Regions from separate parts of the Homo sapiens genome. Here all the other regions are linked to region 2. The links are contacts of gene promoters, found by promoter capture Hi-C in human tissues and cell types (Jung and others, 2019). All regions are on one chromosome and are shown on one strand. The core of a region is centred on a gene start or on the middle of the fragment in contact, and the rest is flanking DNA. Distances in the headings are between cores, read along the strand shown.

Region 1 (2,700 bases), core at 101-2,600, 650 kb after region 2:
GGAAGAATTATAGAAAAAAATATTCTGATATGAAAATGCTATTTCAATATTCAAGAGTACAAATAGGAAAGGTTTCATATTGTTGGATGTTCTGCCTAGCAAAATGGTTAAGAACACAGGAGGCACACTGCATGCTTCTGAATCCAACCTTGGGCTTAGCAGTTGTTGTTACTTGTATTTTGATAGTTCCAATGCAGACATGACAATTAATTGAGGTGCCCAGTAGTTAATATAAATAAAAGATGCAAGATTGTATTCTATTGAACATGGTTCATGGTGGAAATTAACCTATGGGAGCAGACAATTCTTGGAAGGCCAGGCTCCAGGCTTCATTCTTTCCCACAGTATAGGTAATGCAGATGCTGGAGTAAAGAGATGTTCTGGCCGGGCATGGTGGCTCACGCCTGTAATCCCAGCACTTGGGGAGGCCGAGGCAAGTGGATCACGAGGTCAGGAGTTCAAGACCAGCCTGGCCAACATGGTGAAACCCCGTCTCTACTAAAAATACAAAAATTAGCCAGGTGTGGTGGCGTGTACTTGTAGTCCCAGCTACTCGGGAGGCTGAAGCAGGAGAATTGCTTGAACCTAGGAGGCAGAGGTTGCAGTGAGCCAAGATTGTGCCACTGCAGTTCAGCCTGGGCAACAGAGTGAGACTCTGTCTCAAAAAAATAAAAAATATAAAAAAAAAGAGATGTTCTAGGAAGGGCAGGACAGTATAATCTAGCAAGAAGTTTAAAATGGTATAAAGTGTAAAGAATTTTGATTTCTTGGTTCAGGAAGGCTGACTACCTCATTGGCTGGGAGGAGCAGCAAAGCACTGGCAGAAATTCAGGTACTAGTTCTTTAGACCTTGTGTGATTCACTGCAGTATAATCTGGGGAAGGACTCCTAGCATCTCTGGAGTGTAGTTCTCTAATCTGTAAAATTATTTGGCTGGGTTTAATTCGTAAATCCCCTTCCAGCGCTTCTGTTGCTGGCTTCCATAATCTAGGTTATTGGTAACCTTTAAGTGACTTTAGTGGAGTAGTGTGCCCAGTCGCCAGACTGTAGGGAGTTAAAAAGGAATTATATGGTGGAAGACCATCTGCTCAGGAAGTTGAGTTTACTGCAATCCAAGAAAGGTTATAAACCCCTCCTAATTTGGTAGATACATTATATAGCACTCCTACAATATGGACTTGTAGCGATTTCCCTTTTTAAAGTTTTGTTCTAAATCTATTCAGTTTTTAAAGATTTATTAGTCTTTAAAAAGATTTAAGGATATTTAAGGTGATTTAAGGAAATCATGCATGTGGCTCAGTTTTATCTGGCTCAGTGTGTTCTAATGCTCTCAAATAGTTTAACCAGTTTGAGACATAATTTCTACTTAAAAGATTAAAAAATAACAACAACAACTTCACTAGCTTGGCAAAGAAATAAAGCGTTTGTGTGGGACCAAAAACCCAAGCATGGGAGTGAATTTGAGTACTGAATAGAAGTTCTTATGATTATCTTAGTAAAACAGAATAAAATAGTCAAGGCATCAAAGATGCTTCTGAGAGAGCCTAGCCTGAATATGCCACAGCCGCACAGAGTTTCTCCTCAGGTAATTCTGTCTGCTGTCTTGAAGGGTAATGAAGAGTCTCTTATCAATTGGTATTTATACCTGAGCCAATTAAAATTCAATGCCTTGATAAAAAAAATCCAGAACTGAGAAAAGTTGAATTGGAAGTCAAAAAAATGAGCTTAAACACATTTAATAACATCATTCTAATTAACCCATTTAACCTATTAAAATTAAAAGTTTCAATAATAGGCATGATGTATAATGAAATATTTCATCTACAGGATGGAAACTTCTTATACTCATGGCTAAAATGTAAAAGAAGGAAAAATAGAAGTAAGAAAGCAAGATTTATGGTCCAGAATAAAGATATACAAGGATTATTATGATCTAGTATTGTTTTAATGAATCTATATTTCTGACATTTTTCTCTAAGGAAAGAAATCTCAGTTATTCATAAATATGAATAAATTTGTGAACTTAACCTGAAATTTACCTACTTCACGTTTTTTCCTGTTTTGAATCTATTCACATTTTTAAAGGTCTAGTGATCTTTGAAGAAAACCTATCAATTAACGCCTTCTAGCTCCACCTTGTTTAATAATCTATATCCTGACAAGTTGCCCCCTTCTAAAACAAAGGATTGGGCTTTGGGAGTGTCTACTTTCTTGAGGAATGATTTTTCTCTCATGAGGTCCTTGGAGAGTTCCATGTATTTTTGCTGTCATGCAGGTGAATAAAATACAAGTATTTTTGGTCAGCTACTTGAGGCAATATTTTACTTTAATGGCAGAATTATTATGATAGAGCAGATCATGTGTATTGACACACCCTTGAGAGAATTCAGTTTCGCATTCAGTGACACCCAAGCTTTGAATCTGTGAAGTAGACTAGCCCATTTAATATGCCAATTAAAATGGATTGATCTACTTTGACAGTCTTTGGAGAAAAGGCCAATATGAAAGGAATGCTTTTTAGTCATAAGAGCTTATTTTCTGTGCTGCAAGTTTCCAAATTGAGGATGAAAGTCAGTACTTGTTTGCTAAATCATGTACATATTTATATAGATCTCAGCTAAAAACATATAGTACACTTGGTCTCTCATTTTTCAAATTAATGAGGAAGTGGGAGTTTCATGCTTTCTCCTCTAAATATAC
Region 2 (2,700 bases), core at 120-2,619:
ATTCGAGATAAATGACTGTTAAGCTTTGCGGACTGCAAAACATTACTATAAATCAAGCTAAAGTCACAATTCCTGCTCCCGATGGCTCACGCCTTCCTTCTAACTGTAACATCATGAAAAAGTAAAGGTGGTCCTAGTTAGCGTCTTTTGGTGTTTTATTTGCACGTGGTGGTTAACTGGGGTCGTGGTGGCAACTTCGGTGGTAGAGAAGTTGCACACACTCTCAACGAGGTGTTTGGGTCCTAAAGCACTTAAATCTTCATTCACGGAGGCTCGTGAATTATATAATACAGACTAGCATTTCCGGTAAGGTAACAGGAAGTCCACTGTACTCTTCTCACTGCCTAAGGAGCATTCTCATTTTTCTCGGCTTACAAATCTGGATGCTCTTAGCCTGGTGAGGATGCTGTGGGGCTTAAATGCCTCGTGTGCTTTGAAATCCTGAGATGAAAGATATCGCAGCATTGCAAATAGCAATAATAAGGCCTTCTATTTATGTTTACTGTACACTCAGGCGTTTGGCTGGGACCACGGCTTATTCCTAAGCAGGTACAGGACATTAGCATTACCTGCCCAAAGAACAATGCATCCAAACACAGACCCAGCTACCTCCGGGTCAATGGGCGAGGGACGCAGAGAGGGAGGAGCTCCCGCAGCCGGCGGCCGCGGAACCCAGGAAACAACCCCATCCGCCCGAGGCGCTCTGTGGGGGCGGCCTCGACCTCCCCGCCGTTCCTCCCCGCGGAGCACCAGACCCGGGGCCGACGGCCGCGGGGCGGACAGCTTCTCTCTCGGGGCCGGGATGCGCTGAGCACCTCGGTCCAACCTGTTTTTCCGGGGTGGTGACCTCGACGCGAAGGACCGGGCGAGCTGCTGCCTCCCGGGGGATACCAGCCCCCGGCGCTCGTTCAAGGAGGGAGGAAGGAAGGGCTCCCATCGTGTTTGCGCAGGAGTGAGTTTTATTTGCTGCATCTGCGGGCGGGCGGGGCCGGCGGCCCCAAGGTCAGCCGAGGCCGGAGTGCGCGGCTCGCGGCGAGGCCGGTCCCGCCGCCGCCGCCGACTCCCAGCCCGGGCCAGTCACGGCCGGCGCCGGCTCGCGGGCAGCCCAGTAGCGCGGCCTGGCTGAAGAAGACATCCCTGGCCGCGCAGGCCCCGCGCCCCTCACACCCGCCCGGCCCGCTCCCAGATACCTTCTTCAGCTCGTTCTCGCTGGCGCCGGGCGGGACGCCCAGGATGTCGTACAGCTTCGTGTCAGCCACGTTAGCCATGGCGGCCGGCCGGGCAGTGCTCGGGGAGAAGGTGGCGAAGCAGACAGAGCGGAGTCGGGCCCACAAGCGGCGTCGGCGGCGGCACAGGCCGAGGGAGACAGCGAGGGGGAAGCGGGGGCGGGGCTGAACTTTGACCCAGCGCACGGTGCGCCGTGACGTCGCTGTGCAGAGCCCGCCCCCGAGCGCCCGAGGCGCGGCCACTGGGGTCGAAGTATTGAAGAGTGGGCCAGGTTCTCTGTTTTCCTCCAGGTCCAGGCGGCTGGGCAGGGCCAACGTAGGAAATGAAGAACTGTGCACGGCGCACCCCAGGAATTCAGCTTCCTCTCAAAAGCCATGGTTGCGAGGTCGCGTGTTTAACCTCGCACTGGCTGCTGAGGGAATTAACAGGCCTGCGCAGCAGCTTCGTTAGCTTCGAAAGAAAATGGGCCCCGGCTCCCGCAGGAGGCCCGCCTGGCGCGCAGATGTCGTTATTAGAATCCGGGACGTCGGTGGACCCTCTGGGTCTGGCTCCCTCGGGGCTTACGATGAAAAAAACTGGGGGGCGCGTGTGTGTGTATGTTGTGTTTTATATTATGAGAATTCTGAAACATTTAGCAGAAGCAGTATATTACTCCCCATAGTGCAGTTAGCTACCTTTTACCTGTTTCATTGGCTCCACCATACATTTCTAGTGTTTTAAGGGAAACCGTTTCATTCATAAATACCCTAAGTGTATATATTTAATATCTAAGAGACAACTTTTAAAGGCATAACGATGTAATCTCATCTAATGAAATTAACAATTCCTTAATCTAATTCCCAGTCCATATTTAGGTTTTTCAGATGATCTCATGTCCTTTTACAATTGGTTTGTGGCATCCGGGTCCAAACCAAGGTCCACATGTTGCATCTGGACCACGTGTTTAAGCCTCTTACTTGATAGCTTTAAAATTAGCTAACACCAGAGGTTTAGATGGTGTAAGGCAAGTCTGGCCACCAGGTGACTTGATTTACATTCGTTTTAGTTTCGCTCAGAAAGTATGCTGTGCATCTACCAAGTGCTATGATGTACAGAGGCCTGGTCCGGGGAGAGGAGTGTTACAAAAGTGCCTGCCTTCAACCCATTTACGGTTTATGGAGACAGAAAAGTAAGGTTTTCTGATCCCTTGGAACCTGAACTGATAGCAAAGACTTCAGCATAAGCATCTCACTCAGGATAATGTTTCTTCCTTGGCGTTCCCTTTGACCTAGTTGTGGAGGGCCTGAATTCCATGACAAGGACTCTGAAATTTAGCTTGAAAACCCTAAGAGTAATCAGTGATAAGTCATTAATAGTCCTTAAACCCTTTTCCTCAAATCCCATCTGAAATCCTGCTCCCTCTGTGAAGTCTTCCTTTACTGGGCACTGGTGAACACTGCTATCTCATTCGAGTTCCCACCACCCTTCGTTTGT
Region 3 (2,700 bases), core at 111-2,610, 680 kb after region 2:
TCTTTAACCAGAGAAAAAGCCTTTTGTCTCTCAAAAATCAGGGAGCTGGAAGCAGATAGTAACTCCCTAAGTGTTTAGGGAATGGAAAGGAACTTTTGGACCCAGTCTTCCTATGTGGAGCGTCTGTGAATCCCAGCAGTGTCTGGATCTTAGGGTCCTGAGGCTCTTTCCTGTTCTCTTTGTCCTAATGGATTTATACCTTAGTGGGTTTATACCTTAAACATTTTTTTCCACTATCATTTTTGGGATTTTAGGAAAAACAGGAGTTAAAGATATGTCTTGGTCATATTAACCAGAAATCTACTTTTGATTTTATGCTTAAGTGTCCCTCCCATTCCAGGATGTACCTAGGCATTTTTCTATTCCTTTTAAGAAATATGTGGGCCTATATGGAAAAAAAAGACCTAGATAATTTTGAAGAGAAATATAAGATTTGAATAAATAATGGGCTATACCATATTCTTGGATGAAAAGACTATTACAAAAATGTGAGTACCTCCTAAATTAGTCTACTAGTTTATTATAATCATGGTAATTTCAGTGGAGTAGAGCTTTTGGCAATTTCATATGGTTAAGGACAAAAATCAGAGTTCAGGGCCCACCAGGGAAGAGGGATTTCAATAAATACTTCAGACTTCCAGATGACCCTCTTGAAAAGCTATACCTTTGACTAAAAGGGAATCAGAAATAGTTCACTCCTCACAAAGAGTAGTAGATAACATTATCCAGAACCTCAAAGTATTTCTACAAATATGTGCAGTGTCTGTCTTTCATTCAAAATTATCAGGCATGCCACGAGTGATCAAACAACAGAGAGCCACCTACATTGGTTCAGATATTAGAGTTATCAGACATAGACGTCAGAATAACTACGATCAATATGCTTAACTGGCCATCAGAGAAATGCACATCAAAACCACAAAGAGATACCATCTCACACCAGTTAAAATGGCGATCATTAAAAAGTCAGGAAACAACAGGTGCTGGAGAGGATGTGGAGAAATAGGAACACTTTTACACTGTTGGTGGGACTGTAAACTAGTTCAACCATTGTGGATGTCGGTGTGGCGATTCCTCAAGGATCTAGAACTGGAAATACCATTTGACCCAGCCATCCCATTACTGGGTATATACCCAAAGGATTATAAATCATGCTACTATAAAGACACATGCACACATATGTTTATTGCGACACTATTCACAATAGCAAAGACTTGGAACCAACCCAAATGTCCAACAATGATAGACTGGATTAAGAAAATGTGGCACATATACACCATGGAATACTATGCAGCCATAAAAAAGGATGAGTTCATGTCCTTTGTAGGGACATGGATGAAGCTGGAAACCATCATTCTCAGCAAACTATCGCAAGGACGGAAAACCGAACACCACATGTTCTCACTCATAGGTGCGAATTGAACAATGAGAACACTTGGACACAGGATGGGGAACATCACACACCAGGGCCTGTTGTGTGGTGGGGGGAGGGGGGAGGGATAGCATTAGGAGATATACCTAATGCTAAATGACGAGTTAATGGGTGCAGCACACCAACATGGCACATGTATACATATGTAACAAACCTGCATGTTGTGCACATGTACCCCAAAAACTTAAAATATAATAAAAAAATAAATAAAGAAAAGAAAAAAATTAGATAACAAGTTGGAGAATTTTATTAGAAACTTTGATAGTACATTTAAAAAGAATCAAATAGAAATTCTAAATGAAAAATTCAGTCACCAAAATTGAGAAGTCAGTGAAACAATGTAGTACTTATTCACTATAATTGATGGCAGAGGATAGGTAAACTCAGAAAAACACCCCAGTATACACACAGGAACTTAAAATAATATGTAATCAAGGAAACAATAAATTAATGGTGGATGTATAGATTATTTAATATATACTTTGGGAAAAATTAAGGCAGTTAGAGTATCACCTCACATCGTACACCAAAATACATTTCAGGTGGATTAAATGACTTAATTTTAAAAGATGTTTATTTTAAGAAGAAATCAAAATACTTTCAAGCTTTTACTTTGGGCATATCATAAGCTATCAGTTTTAGCCTCTGATGTTGACAAATTCTTAGTTTTGTGATGACTTTGAGTTGAAAATAATTTTACTTTAAAGTTTAATATTCTGCCATGTTGTGGAGAGTTTTCATTTCATTTGAAGAGTCATAGACAAATTACAAAGACAGTGCAAAGTGTGGTGATTTTCTCTCAAGTCAAATTGAAGGTTTCTCCTTTTCTTTTTGTTTTATTTTAATGTCAAGCACAGCATAGAGTTTTAAAGTCAGAATGATATCCTTTTTAATCCTGTGTCATCTGAAATTGGGAAACTTTTTGCTTATATATCCTTATACACAAAGCTCAAGTTGGTCAAGACCTTAAGATATTTCATCTAATCTTCTCATTTTACAAACAGAACTAGAGCTCTTTGTAGGACAGTAACTGTCTGTAGTCCTAAGACTAGTTACTGCAGAAGGGAATAGAATTCATGGTTTCCCATTCCTAGTTCACTACTTTTTATACTCAAGCACCTGAACTTTCATCACTTTCTTTTCAGCAGCAGAGTTTAATGTCTACTTCACTACCTATCTCATTTTCCCATTTTTAGTTGTGTTTCAGAAATTATAGGAGAAAGAGGTCAGTAGTTTTGTCATGATTCAAAGAGTTTTACTTTTTTTTT

Evidence for each region. The method cuts DNA at HindIII sites, captures the fragments that hold promoters and counts their contacts. A contact is called where the count stands out against the background at its distance.
Region 1: a fragment that was not itself captured here is called in contact with the fragment with the promoter of DNAJA2 in region 2 in 1 of the 25 tissues and cell types used here (lymphoblastoid cells).
Region 3: a fragment that was not itself captured here is called in contact with the fragment with the promoter of DNAJA2 in region 2 in 1 of the 25 tissues and cell types used here (dorsolateral prefrontal cortex).

What each region holds. Positions count from the first base shown.
Region 1 is chr16:47,620,212-47,622,911 of GRCh38, forward strand. All of the region lies in intron 14 of PHKB (phosphorylase kinase regulatory subunit beta), which reads left to right. Among named protein-coding and RNA genes, the nearest start is that of PHKB, 160 kb to the left of the region's middle. The HindIII fragment of the contact is 7,108 bases long and covers 1-2,700 here.
Region 2 is chr16:46,972,305-46,975,004 of GRCh38, forward strand. It overlaps DNAJA2 (DnaJ heat shock protein family (Hsp40) member A2), which reads right to left and starts at 1,370. Exons shown (of 9, transcript NM_005880.4): 1 at 1,191-1,370. The coding sequence starts at 1,268. DNAJA2-DT (DNAJA2 divergent transcript) reads left to right here and starts at 1,468. Exons shown (of 2, transcript NR_186372.1): 1 at 1,468-1,821. RefSeq lists silencers at 242-321, 672-741, 772-821, 972-1,051, 1,082-1,131 and enhancers at 1,562-1,631, 1,692-1,781. The HindIII fragment of the contact is 16,518 bases long and covers 1-2,700 here.
Region 3 is chr16:47,653,326-47,656,025 of GRCh38, forward strand. All of the region lies in intron 20 of PHKB (phosphorylase kinase regulatory subunit beta), which reads left to right. Among named protein-coding and RNA genes, the nearest start is that of PHKB, 190 kb to the left of the region's middle. The HindIII fragment of the contact is 5,173 bases long and covers 1-2,700 here.